2 separate regions of the Homo sapiens genome follow, and region 2 is linked to region 1. The links are contacts of gene promoters, found by promoter capture Hi-C in human tissues and cell types (Jung and others, 2019). All regions are on one chromosome and are shown on one strand. The core of a region is centred on a gene start or on the middle of the fragment in contact, and the rest is flanking DNA. Distances in the headings are between cores, read along the strand shown. Region 1 holds the start of TMEM200B (transmembrane protein 200B). Region 2 overlaps EPB41 (erythrocyte membrane protein band 4.1).

Region 1 (6,907 bases), core at 1,899-4,398:
CAGGATGCCCTTCACAGCTGCTGTGGTCAGAGCATCCATCCCCAGCCTGGGATGTGACTGAAACATCTATTAGACGTTGGGACTCCTGGTCCTTTGGTCCTATTAGCATGGTCCATGCTGCAGCCTCAGAGCAGGCTGTCTCCCCTCTCTTCAGACCCGGGCCCCCAAGTCCCCTCCTCCTCCCAATTTGGCATAGCCCCCAAGACTGAGGCGGTCCAGCCGTGGCCAGCTTCGGTGAGCACAGTCCCGAGCTGCTGGGGCCCCAAGGAGGAGCTCCCCAAGGCCCAGATCCAGAGACTTGGAATGTTCAATGCAGGAGCCAGACGGCTGCACGGTGATGATCACATGGCCAGTCTGCGTCCGTGGACCCCAGGGTGGGGGCAGCCCGGGGCCCTTCAGCGGGTAGCTGTTGAGCAAGGCAGGTAACCCCAAGCGAGGATTAGCGGGCTCTGAACGCAGACTCCGCACTGACGGGACGGGTGAAGTACCCCGACGCGGGGACGGGTCCCAGATTTCTGGCTCTGCGCAGCCTACGGCTCGGGGACTCCTAGGGCCGGGGCTGGGAAGGAGGGCGCAGTCCCAGCCCGGGCCGTCGGGGGGCCGGAGCGCCTGGGCCCGCAGCACCCCCTGGCGGAGCCGTCGCGTCTCCAAGTCTCGGTTCTCATACAGCAGTGTGTTGGCGCAGATGAACACGAACAGGCCGACGCCCATGATCACCGGCCCGAGGAGCCGCAGCCGCTCGTGCGGGCCGTGAGCCCGGCCCCCGCCGCGACCCTCGCGTCGCAGCTCGCTCATCTGGGGCGAGCTGGCATTGGCGGCCCGGGACCCTGGGGCCCCGGCCCGGTGCGGCCAGTAGCCGGCCACTGCAATGCCCATACCCACCAGTACCACGAGCGCCCCCAGCGCCGCGAACGCCCCCGACGGCGAGCGCAGCCGCAGCCGCGCCCGCACCCGCAGAGGCTCGGGCGGGGAGCGCGGGCGCCGGCGGCGGCCCAGGCGGCGGCCCAAGCGAGAGACGCGGCCCTCGGGGCTCCTCCGCACCTCCCCGCATTCTTCGGGGCTCCCGGCCGTCATCTCGCCGTCGTCTGGGCGCTCTGCGGAGAGAAGATGGGAGGCAAGGACTGGACCGACGGGCCTCTAGCTTCAGGGCGCCAGGTTCGGGGCGCAAATCCGGGAGGGAAGCTCCGGCCGCCCAGCCCAGGCCGCTTGGAGATCCCTGGCGGCCACCCCCGGATTTTCCCGGGCGGCGAGGCGGGGAGCCGCCCGCGCTCGGGTTTTCCGCAGCGGAGCTCCGAGCCAGGCACGCGCGGCAGAAGCCGGAGTTGGCCCGGCCAGCGGGCGGAGAGGAGGGAGGGGGGCGCAGGCTGTTCCCTGGCGCATCCCGGGCTGCAAATCTGCCGCCTGCGTCCGGTCCGCAAGCCCGCGGGTCTTGGGCCTCGGGAAACGTGCGGCCCCCAGCTGCCGCGTCTCCAGGGTAAGTACCTCCCGGGCTCGACCCCACCCCCGCACGTGGCTGCACCGTAGCAAATGGGGCGGGGGCGCTCGGGCCTCCCAGGTCCGCAGGGGTCGCTCGCCGGGCCCCACCTCCCCCCTACTGTGCTTTACATACCGCAGCGCGGGAGGAGGGGGCGTCACCGGCTCCAGCCTCTCCCTGCCCGCCCCCTCCTTCCAGACCTCCTCCGCCCGCAGCGAAGCTGCAGCAGGAGCGACTTGAGCTAGACACCGGGAAGACCGCTCGGATCAAGACCAGCCAGGCAGAGGAGGAGAGGCGGCGCCGACTTCGCCCAAGATTTCCATCAAGTCCACGCATGAGAGGCCTCTCCCTCCCCCAGCGGTCGTGCTGGGGCCACGGCAGCAGGCGGGGGTGCCGGTGCCGGGCGCTGGGCCCCGCCGGACGGATGCCCTCCCGGCTCCCCCGTCGGCCCGGGCAAGGCTGTTCCCAGGTTGCGACGTTTCCAATTCGGGCTCCTCCGGATGAATCATCCCCCTTTCCCGCCGCCTGGCCTCCTTTCCCGCCTCCTCCGCCCGAGGCCTCCGTGGCCCGTGGCCCGGTCAGAGCAGCACCGCCCCTGCGCCTCGGGATCCGGGCCGCACAGCTTAAGCCCTCCCGATTGCTGGCCGCGCCCTGCCTGCGGCCTGTGGCCTGGATCCCGGGCCCAGCAGGAGTAGCCGAGCTGCGTGCGGTGTGGCCCCCACGAAAGGGAGGGCGAGGGAGAAGACGCGGCCCCCGCCCAGGCGCCCCAGGCCGCAGGAGAGGAGGCTCAGGGCCTAGCTGTCCAGGGTCGTCCTCACTGCTCGCGTCCGCTTCCTAAAGAACCACCGCGCTGGAGCCCGCAGCCGAAACCTCGGGGAGGCGGCCTTGCTCCCCGACCCACGCCCCATCTGCACCCCAAACCTCAAAGCAGGACACCCATCCCTGCCTCCGACTGGAGCGCTCAAGGCCCGGGCCTAGCAGGGAGCCGCCACTCTCCCGCGTCCAAAGCCTGGTTTCACAGATTGCAACTACGGCCCAGGGAGGCCGGGGAGACTGCCCGACCCCGCACTAGGCGGGGGCTCTGCCAGGTCCGACGCCGGGCTCCGGGGCCCCAGCCCTAGACCCCTCTCAGGACAGCCACGGGAGTATCCAGGAGGAAGCGAGGCCCATCCCCTCCTTGTCCCTGAGTTTGCAGCCCTTTCCCCAGCCCGCAACCGGAGGAGCGATCATCGCTTCAAGCCAGAACTGGCGCTCTCAGCCCCGGCTCCAGCAAGGTCACCCGGAGCCCCGCGCGTCGCTGCCGCGAGGGAAGCGAAAACAAGCAGAGTGGGGACATGGGGACACGCTCAGAGACCCCGAGCCGTGGAGGTAGTGGGCCGACGCTGGGGACACCAGGGAGGCGGAAACTTGGGGACACAGCGCACAGCCCGACAGAAGATGCTGGGGCCGAGTCCCCAGGACTCCAGGGTCCCGCCACCGCCCGCGTCCACACTCCCGCCTGGGGGAACGGGAGGGCCGCGCTCCCGCCCCCAGGGGCCCTGACCGAGGGAGGGAGGGAGGGAGGGAGGGACCAAACGAAAAGTTGGGAAAAGTGGAGTGCGGACCCCTGGACCCCAGCTCGGCTCACCTGGCGCCGCAGCGCCGCGCGGGTCCGGGTCCCAGTCCGCGCGCGGAGGCTCCAGAGCCGCCCGGGTCTCCACGGCCCGGCCCCAGCCCCGCCCCGGCCCCGCCTCCAGCCCCCGGGACCGTCCGACCCGCGCCGGGCCCGGCCCCACCGCCGCTGAAAGGCGGCAGCTCAGGTCAAAGGATCGCAGGTAGGCGCCCTGTGCGCGCCTGGTGACTCCGGGCACCCGTGGCCCGAGTTCTGCCATCCCCACTCTCCCACCCCCAGCTTACATCGGTCGCAAAGGCCCACAAAGGCGACCCCTTCCTACATGGGGAAACTGAGACCCGGGACCCAGGAGCCCCGACACCCGCACGTCCTTCCCCGCTTCCCAGAGCCCCTCATCCCAGGCGCCCGGGGAGCTTCCAGGAGGAGGCGGCCCGAGTCCCTGCTCTGCCCCGGTCCCGCAGCCCTTGCTGTCGCTGAACCTCGCGGACTTCATCTGTGCAATGGGCACCAAGGCTTCAGCCTCGCAAGATGCCGAGAGGCAAGAGCCAGACGCCAAGGGCCAGCCCGGGGCGACTCCGCAAAGCCCTCAGCGAAAGCAGCGCCCGGGGAGGGGCGGGCCTTGTAGCTGAAAGGACCGGACGGGGTGCGGATGTGCCGCCGGGTACTCCTAAGAACAGGCGCCCCTTCGCCAGTGGGGGAGCGGGCTTGTTCCCAATAACGGGGAGGGTGCTGAGAGCTGCGACCCCGCCGGCGAGCCCGAAGGGGGCGGCCCGGCCTTCGCGCCCTCCCGCCCCTGGAGGCAGGAATGCAGAGCGGGGGAGCCAGGGCGGCCGGCGGTCGGCCCAGTTTCCATGATGCGGGGGGCGGGTTCGGGGGAGGCGGCGACCGATTTCCAGGCTCAGCGGTCAGGCCGGGCCCCCCGGGAGGAATTTCCGGCCTAGGATTGATTAAGGCCCGCCCCTCCCCCCGGCCGTGGAGACCCCCGGCGCGCAGCCGGGGGGAGGGGCGCTAATGAGACCCGGCTGCGCGCCGCGGACAGGGAGGGGACCCGAGGAAGGGGCGGGCCAGGGGCCGGGGCCACCCCCCGACGCGGGGCGGAGCCGGGTCCCGGAGCCGCACGGCCAGGCCAGGCCTTGAACCTGAGCTCCCACCCTCTGGGTCGGCGGAGGAGAGTGGGGGTGCATCAGTGCCCCCCGGGACCCCCTCTTCCAGCTCTTAAAAGCCCCCTCGGGGGGTCGGTGAGGTAACGGGCGGACCAGAGGGACCACAGTGGGGAAGACCGAGCCTCGGCTCCCGGGCTTCATCCCTGCGAGGCCGTGTGCGAGATCGAAGCCAGGGCCTCCTTCTTGCCTCCCCAGTCCGACTGGAGGCTCCTGAGGTCTCGGTCCGCTCCACGGAGGCCTCCCTCCAGCATCTTTGCTTGGGACCCCCGCCCCCATCAATCCTCCGCTTCGTCCACTCCCCGCACACTGACCCCACCGCGGTCGCACCTCCGCCTCCCAGCTCTCCCTCCCACCCCTGGGCTCCCTCAATCCCACTCCATGCCTGCCTCTCCCAGCCCACTGCTCTTCCTCCAATAAGCCCGGCTTCTAGTCTGACTCCCTGGGCCCCTCGATCATCCCCTGCCTCCAGCTCTGTGAAGGGCCCTTTGTCCACCCAAGCACGGGGTCAGCCTTGGCCCCTTCCTCTCCCCCTCTCATCCCACTCACAGAGCCTTGGGGGCCCTGCTCTTTTCATCTGGGGCCAGCCACGTTCTCCCTTTCCCATGGCCACTGTCCTGCTCCGGCGTCCAGGCTCCTCCTGGAGCCCATGGTCTCCTGCCTCCCCGTGTCCTAGTGCGCTGCAGACAGGCAGCAAGGGTTTCCACTCTGAATCTGAGCCTGCCACTACCTGCTTAAAACCATCAGTGACTCCCCAAATCGAGTTGGAAATCTCTTCTTGTCTCCACGAACTGGCCCCGGGCCTCTTACACTCCCTCAGGGCTTGGTTGGTCCTTGCTTTCCGGCAGGAACACTTACCCCCTGGTCGTGCCCTTGCCACCTTCTACACATCCTTCAGACCCTGGGCCTTCCCCCAGCCCCCAGACCAGGTCAGTACCCGCTCTCCTGCTCTGTTGTACACCCTCACAACACCAGCAGCTTCCCTGTGCACCTGCAAACTGAACCCACTGGGAGTGGAGTCTGTTTCCTGTCTGTGTCCCCACTGGCCATGACTCTGAGGGGGCAGGACTAGGTCTGTCTTGCTCATCCCTGGAGCCCTGTGCCCAGCACAGTGTCTGCCCACAGCTGGCCATCCCCATTAGAGGAGGGTGTGCAGGCCTGTGTCTCCTTCAGCCCGAATACCTTCCTGATCTCCATGCCAGGTGCCCTGGCCCAGACAGCAGGAGAAAGAAAGGACTCCTCTCTGTCTCAGGCTCCTCATTTGTAAAAAGGGAGAAATAATACCTACCCCACAGTGTTGTTTTGAAGGTTAAATAACAGTTCACCTGTGGCCGGGTGCGGTGGCTCACACTTGTAATCCCAGCACTTTGAGAGGCTGAGGAGGGAGGATCACTGGAGCCTAGGCGTTCAAGACCAGCCTGGGCAACATAGCAAGACCCTGTCTCTACAAAAAAATTTAAAAATTAGCCAGGTACTGTGGCGCATGCCTATAGTCCCAGCTACTCGGGCGACTGAGGCAGGAGGATCTCTTGACCCCAGGAGTTTGAGGCTATAGTGAACCATGATTGCAAAGCCTGGGTGACAGAGTGAGATCCTGTTTCAAAATTTTTTTAAAGAAGCTGGGCCTGGTGGCTCATGCCTGTAATCCCAGCACTTTGGGAGGCCGAGATGGGAGGATGACTTGAGGTCAGGAGTTCGAGACCAGCCTGGCCAAATGGTAAAACCTCATCTCTACTAAAAATACAAAAATTAGCCGGGTGCGGTGGCTCACACCTGTAATCCCAATACTTTGGGAGGCTGAGGTGGGCGGATCATGAGGTCAGGAGATCGAGACCATCCTGGCTAACACGGTAAAACCCCGTCTCTACTAAAAAATACAAAAAATTAGCCGGGTACAGTGGTGGGCGCCTGTAGTCTCAGCTATTCGGGAGGCTGAGGCAGGAGAATGGCGTGAACCTGGGAGGCGGAGCTTGCAGTGAGCTGAGATCGTGCCACTGCACTCCAGCCTGGGCGACAGAGCGAGACTGTGTCTCAAAAAAAAAAAAAAAAAAAAAAAATTAGCTGGGCGCGGTGGTGGGTTCCTGTAATTCCAGCTACTCAGGAGGCTGAGGTGGGAGAATCACTTGAACCCAGGAGGTGGAGGTTGCAGTTAGCCAAGATGGTACCACTGCACTCCAGCCTGGGTGACAGAGCGGACTCTGTCTAAAAAGGAAAAAAAAAAAAAAAGCTTGTATAATAGAAAGATGACCAAATAAGGAAACAAATGAGTTCTTCAAAGGAGACTTAGTGTCCAGGAAAGGATTCTATGGACCCTGAGAGGATTTAGAGAAGAGGTATATAGGCTTGAACCCAGGAGGCGGAGGTTGCAGTGAGCCGAGATGGCACCACTGCACTCCAGCCTGGGTGACAAAGTGAGACTCGGTCTCAAAAAAAAAAAAAAAATTTAAGAAAGGGTTCACATGTTGAGTGCCTGGCACAAAGTGGGTTCCAGCAAACACCTCTCCCTCTTCTGATCATGACGTTTCAGGTACAGAGGGTAGTGTTTGGGGTGGGTAGAAACCTTCCCTGGGGTCACTGGGGTGGCAGAGGAGGGAAGGGCCCCCTTTCCCAGATGTCCTGTTTAATTCTCTTGAGAGCTCCAGGAGGTCAGTGCTATGCCCA
Region 2 (6,907 bases), core at 1,967-4,466, 36 kb before region 1:
AATAGCAATATAGAAAGATAAGCTTTGAGGCTAGAAACAGTAATAAATCTCTGACATTTTAAAATAGTTGTAAATTGTGTGACTAATCAGAAATATTCTATTTTCTTTCTTAACAGACAGTATGTATCCCAAAACTATCCATTATAAATGGTATTCTTCCTGAGGATCTTGGTTCGGGAATATTTATGAAATAGCCTCATAGTATACCCATTTTAATTCTCCTGTCACAATTTCTTTCTTCAAAGTTGTGATGTTCTCTAAAATATAATGAGGACCTGTTTGAGAACTTGCTAACAAAAGCTGAAAGGAAGCCCAATTTTAGTTAAATCCATAGGCTTGGCCCACTTCAGGAGTTCAAGAAACACCATGTAGGGACTTCCTGTCTTTATTGCTTTGGTTCACGTTACTTTGCAAAAAGTAATATTTTAAGAAATATAAATCATTCTGGATATGAATTGTGATGTGATAGAATCAATCTATAGTGTATATCACTAACCTAAAGTTATTGTTTAGATCAGTTTTGGAAATACTTTGATCTTCTTTTTTTTTTTTTTTTTTTTGAGTTGGAGTCTCACTCAGTTGCCAGGCTGGAGTGCAGTGGCATGACCTTGGCTCACTGCAACCTCTGCCTCCTGGGTTCAAGTGATTCTCATGCCTCAGCCTCCTGAGTAACTGGGATTACAGGCACCCGCCACCATGCCCGGCTAATTTTTTTGTATTTTTAGTGGAGATGGGGTTTCACCATGTTGGCCAGGCTGGTTTCGAACTCCTGATCTCAAATGATCCGCCTGCCTCAGCCTCCCAAATTGCTAGGATTACAGGCGTGAGCCACCACACCTGGCCAAAAACCACATTTTAAATCACTTTCCTGATAATATCGCTTCTACCTCTAAATCAGAAAACATTAAAATACAATGAAGCTACAACTTAAATTTGAAGTATTTCTTTTCCACCAGTTATACAGATATATTAAATTCATCATCATTGACTTTGACTTTCTTTTCTTTTCTTTTTTACCCCAAGTTTACAACCTCCACCTGCCAGGCTCAAGTGATCCTCCCACCTCAGCCTCCTTAGTGGCTGGGAATATAGGCATACACCACCACACCTGGCTAATTTTTTGTATTTTTGGTAGAGATGGGGTCTTGCCATATTGCCCAGGCTGGTCTCGAACTTCTGGACTCAAGCAATCTGCCCGCCTCGTCCTCCCAAAGTGCTGGGATTAAAGGCGTGAACCACCTCACCCAGCTGACTTTGACTTTCAAAACCAACTAACTAAATTACCAAGGTTTAATATTATATTCCCCTTATAAAAGAGAACTTTTATATTACATACCAGTTACTAGCTTATAATTCTTTCCTCTAACTACTTTTTTCTTTTAGAAGCCTATTAAGGCTTATTTTTTACTGTTTTTAAAAGGCTTGGAAGATGTTAAGGATTTTTTAGCACTTTCTGCATAAATTGTTTACTAGACTCTTCAGGTTTTAAAGATCATTTCACTACTGAAACCAGATACAAGTGCTTGCATAAGAAAATAATCACTTTTTATTACCAAAGTAATACATACTTGTTTTAGAAAGGTTAGGAAATAGAGAAAAACCACAAACAAAAAGATCGTTTGCAATCCCTTGATTATTAATATTTTAGTACACCTTAAAATCTTTTGTCTTTCCTTTTTTTTTTTTTTTTTGAGACAGAGTCTTGCTGTGTCACCAGGCTAGAGTGCAGTGGTGCCATCTCGGCTCACTGCAACCTCCGTCTCCCAGGTTTAAGCGATTCTCCTGCCTCATCCTCCGGAGTAGCTAGGACTACAGGCACATGCCACCACACCCAGCTAATTTTTGTATTTTTAGTAGAGACGGGGTTTCACCATGTTGGCCAGGATGGTCTCGATCTCTTGACCTCATGATCCACCCGCCTCAGCCTCCCAAAGTGCTGGGATTACAGGCATGAGCCACCGCGCCCGGCCACCTTAAGATCCTTTTCATGTGTATATTTATACACATTGGAAAATATAATTTTTAAATGGCTAAGAAATGAAGCATAACTGATCAAGAGGAGGATTTAGTCTTTGAATTATATAGAAAGATAAAATGAGACAATAGCAGTGTGTTTTCTTCCTTTTAATAGAGAAAGGAGTTGTTTTTCTATTGCCACTAAAAGGTAAAATTGGTCTTCACTAAGTGGGGAACAAGTGACTAAATGTGTGGGGATAAAATTACTACACAGGTACTCATACATGGCTCTTATGTAGCAAAATTTTAGAAAAATTTTCAGGATATATTTTCACTTTGATCTCTTAAAGGATAAGACACTCTTGTAAGCTTAACTGTGGTTCTTTTTTTTTTTTTTTTTTTTTTGAGACAGAGTCTTGCTCTGTCGCCCAGGCTGGGGTGCAGTGGCACAATCTTGGCTCACTGCAAGCTCCGCCTCCTGGGTTCACGCCATTCTCCTGCCTCAGCCTGAGTAGCTGGAACTACAGGCGCCCGCCACCATGCCCGGCTAATTTTTTGGAGTTTTAGTAGAGACAGGGTTTTACCATGTTAGCCAGGATGGTCTCCATCTCCTGACCTTGTGATCCGCCCGCCTTGGCCTCCCAAAGTGCTGGGATTACAGGTGTGAGCCACCGTGCCCAGCCAACTGTGGTTCTTTTGATAGTCTCTTCAAATATGTAAATCCTTACTTCAAAAATAACCTGAAAAGAAATAGACTCTGGATTGCATTTGTTGGAGTGGCAGCAAAATACCTATAAAACACCCATATCCTGCTTTTTTTTTGAGATGGAGTTTTGCTCTTGTTGCCCAGGCTGGAGTGCAATGGCACAATCTCAGCTCACTGCAACCTCCACGTCCTTGGTTCAAGCAATTCTCCTGCCTCAGCCTCCCGAGTAGCAGGGATTACAGGCATGCGCCACCACACCTGGCTAATTTTGTATTTATATTAGAGACGGGGTTTCTCCATGTTGGTCAGGCTGGTCTCGAACTCCCAACCTCCGATGATCACCCGCCTTGGCCTCCCAAAGTGCTGGGATTGTAGGCGTGAGCCACTGCGCCCGGCCCATATCCTGCTTTTAATAATATCTGGAATTCATAGGTCAAAAAAGGGGTAATTTATAACTCATAAAGGCATATATATAATCAGGGTCTGATGATTCTGAGACATAATCCCTTTGCATAAATAGTTTTTGAGAGAAAGCCTTTAGGAAAAAAAATCTTGTTTTCTTCCCCAAAACAAAGAAAATACTGAATTATCATACTTAGCAGGAGCCATTGACTTTTTAAATGAAATTGAGAATCTTCAAATAATGTTTCTGTTCAGTTAAATATTTGTCTAATATTCTTTTTTTCATATTATTAAAACCAACTAGATATCATTGCAGTACTTTATATATATAGGCAGCCAATCTTTCTATCATAGCATCTTTTTTCCTTTTTCTTTTTTTCTTTTTTTCTTTTTTTTTTGAGATGGAGCCTCCCTCCTGTCGCACAAGCTGGAGTGCAGTGGCACGATTTCAGCTCACTGCAACCTCCACCTCCTGGGTTCAAGCGATTCTCCTTCCTCAGCCTCTTGAGTAGCTGGGATTACAGGCGTGCGCTACCACGCCTGGCTAATTTTTGTATTTTTAGTAGAGACGGGGTTTCGCCATGTTGGCTAGGCTGGTCCTAAGCTCCTGACCTCAGGTGACCCACCCGCCTCGGCCTCCCAAAGTGCTAGGATTACAGGTGTGAGCCCCTGCACCCGGCCAGCATCTTTTTTCTTACAGATTCCCCATCAGTTCAGGTAAGCGACATCTAGATTAACACCTTTGAATCACATTAAGTCTCAGCTTTGCCTTTTTGTCACTGAGGATGGTTCAGACACAGCCATATATTCATCTTCTACTTGAGAAGATCCCTTTAAAGTTTTCAGGCTAATTTGGTATGTGCAGTTGCAGTCTTATATAATCCAATGGCCCTTGATGATGGTCACAGCCAAAGGCAACAACACTGTCAGAATTCTTTACTGATATTAAATGCCAAATTCTGGGTGTCTTGTGTCATGGAGACTTTATATTTTCTTCTGGCCAGTCTTGTCTTCTGGCTTCTCAGCCTTCTTATATGTAAAAATCTAGTGTCAGCCACTCAGAACAGACTCTGTTAAGAGGAGTTTGGGCGCTGTTTGTATGTCTCAAAGTTAAAGTCGGGTTTGCTGTGTGTTATTTTGAGCATAATAGGACATGTCCTGAAGCTGGGCACACTGGCATGTGCCTGTAGTCCTAGCTAATCGGGAGCCTCAGATGGGAAGATCCCTTGGGCCCAGGGATTTGAATCCTGCCTGAGCATCATAGTGAGAGCCTATGTCTAAAAAATAAATATATACATAAGTAAAATAAATAGGACATGTGCTTTGGTCCTACTTGAAATACCTTCTGGTGTCATGGGAAGAAGATGGGCTTTAGAACCAGAGATAGATCTGAGTCTAAACACTAGCTGCTCATCTGTTCATCTATAAAATAGAAATAATGACTACTTCATAATTATACTGTAAATAATTAAATGAAAAAACATGCTCAAGTGATTAGCACAGCACCTGGCACATGGTAAACATACAAAAATATTAGTTTTCTCTTATTTTACTGATGGAGGAGATAAAATGCTGGACTAGACTATGAGTCTGGTCAAATGAGCCACTGTTTATTTCTTCCTAAACATGCTTTTCTAAACATTTTAGTTACAGAATAGCACAGGACAAAGAAGAAGTTCTCAAGTGACCTGGATTTACCTAACATACCTTCAACACGTTTTTACTGAGCATCTATTACATACCAAAAACTGTACAAGAAAGATAGAGAGCTAAGTAAGACAGTAACAAGTTCTCATCCCCCAAGGATTTCATAGGCTAATGGAAAAGACAGATGAATATGCCAGTGATGACAGGGTACAATGGGAACCAAAGAGGACTGGTATCTAAACATACTTCAGGCAGCCAAGGAAAATCTAGAAGAAATGACAGTTGAGCTAAGTGTGGACTTCCAGGCAGAAGGAATAAGATTTACAAAGGCACAGAGATAATAGAAAGATGCTCTGTCCTAGGGAATACAAATAGTTTTGGAGTAATGGGGAGAAGGATATATGTGGAGTTGTAGCTGGATGAAGCTGGAGAGAGAGGTAAGGGTCAGATTTTAAAGTATTTTCTGTCTTACTAAAACCCAGTGAAGGGTTTTAAACTAGAAAACTGAATTTTCAGTGTTTAATTTTAGAAATAAGCACTTTAGCAGCATAATAGAGGACACGTTCAAGGAAGGTTTGAGATGAGAAAGAAGGAAGGAAGAAAGGAAAGAAGAAAAACCGTTGAGGGCATTTGTGGTAATCTGGATGAGGCGTTCTAAGAGCTTTAACAGGCTGGGCACAGTGGTTCACACCTGTAATCTCAACACTTTGGGAGGCTATGGTGGGCAGATCACTTGAGGTAAGGAGTTCAAGACCAGCCTGGCCAACATGGTGAAACCCTGTCTCAACTAAAAATACAAAAATTAGCTGGGCATGGTGGCACGCATCTGTAACCCCAGCTACTTGGAGGTTGAGGCAAGAGAATCACTTGAACCCAGAAGGTGGAGGTTTCAGTGAATCAAGATTGCACCACTCTACTCCAGCCTGGGCGAAGAGCTTGAACAAAGGTAGTAAATGTGGGAATTGATGAGGGAAACATTAAAGCAAATAGATAAAGTAGATATTAAAATGGAATAAAAATGCCTTGATGACATAATCTCTGGGGGTTAGCGGATAAATGTAAGGAAGAAGTTGAAGATGATTCTCAGAATTCTGGCATGGATGATTGGATGGATGGATGGAGATGCCTTCTACTAATATGATAGAAGTGACGGAGGGGCCGGATGTGGTGGCTCACTCCTGTAATCCCAGCACTTTGGGAGGCTGAGGCAGGTGGATCACCTGAGGTCAGAAGGTCAAGACCAGCCTGACCAACATGGAGAAACCCTGTCTCTACTAAAAATACAAAATTAGCCGGGCGCGATGGCAAATGCCTGTAATCCCAGCTACTCGGGAGGCTGAGGCAAGAGAATCGCTTGAACCTGGGAGGCAGAGGTTGCAGTGAGCTGACATCGCGCCATTGCACTCCAACCTGGTCAACAAGAGCGAAACCCTGTCTCAAAAAGAAAAGAAATGATAGAGGAAGTTGGGGTGGGAAGCCCAGAGAGCAGCAGAGATGAGTTTAGTTTGCAACATGTTGCATTCTACACCCCTGGGAGGATGCTCAACAAATAATTGTCTGTGTTGTCCTGGAGATCTGGATAACAGTGTCAACTTGAGAAGTTGATTTGACCATATGTGAGTGTGCTATAAATGGTAATCCAACCCAACTGTTATGTTTTTCTTTTATTTCTGAAGACTAGTACATGTTAGGTGCTCAGTAAATATTTGTTGAGTTGAAATTACTGTGGCTAGGGCTTTTATCATTGTTGTCTTCTACACATGCTTTGGAAAAAAAGAGATTGTTCTGTCTAATTTAACTCAGCAGTAGGCAAGTTTGGGTCAGGTGGTGCTGGCCTAAGTAATGTTTAGTTCACAAATAGCTTCTTGATGACAGACTACTACTTATCACTTGAACAAACTGGCACAAAATTGGCTCTTACTTGATTATCTTAGGTATTTGTCTGATTATTAATCAGCCTTCTCAGTTGTGACAAATTATTTGAAGAAGCCCAAAGTTCCTCTCCATGTGAATGGGTTTAGATAGCTATTCACAATGCTAGGACTAGCATGTAGCAATTTCAGAAAGCCTATTTGTTTAATACCAGCTGATCTATTTTTGGACAGCTCTATAGCCACTTGCCTGACTCAAAAGAAACAGTGAGATAAGTGCCCTGGAAAGTAGCATAGCATCTTAACAATATGACAAATTCATTCT

Evidence for each region. Contacts are between HindIII fragments. The study calls those that stand out against the background at their distance.
Region 2: a contact is called between a fragment that was not itself captured here and the fragment with the promoter of TMEM200B in region 1, in 1 of the 25 tissues and cell types used here (mesendoderm cells).

The regions. Positions count from the first base shown.
Region 1 is chr1:29,120,755-29,127,661 of GRCh38, forward strand. TMEM200B (transmembrane protein 200B) reads right to left here and starts at 3,149. Exons shown (of 2, transcript NM_001003682.4): 1 at 3,102-3,149; 2 at 1-1,094. The coding sequence starts at 1,074. The coding sequence ends at 151. RefSeq lists a silencer at 504-883 and enhancers at 2,563-3,422, 3,423-4,282, 4,283-5,142. The HindIII fragment of the contact is 25,455 bases long and covers 1-6,907 here.
Region 2 is chr1:29,084,602-29,091,508 of GRCh38, forward strand. The region is part of intron 16 of EPB41 (erythrocyte membrane protein band 4.1); the gene reads left to right. Among named protein-coding and RNA genes, the nearest start is that of TMEM200B, 36 kb to the right of the region's middle. The HindIII fragment of the contact is 7,588 bases long and covers 1-6,907 here.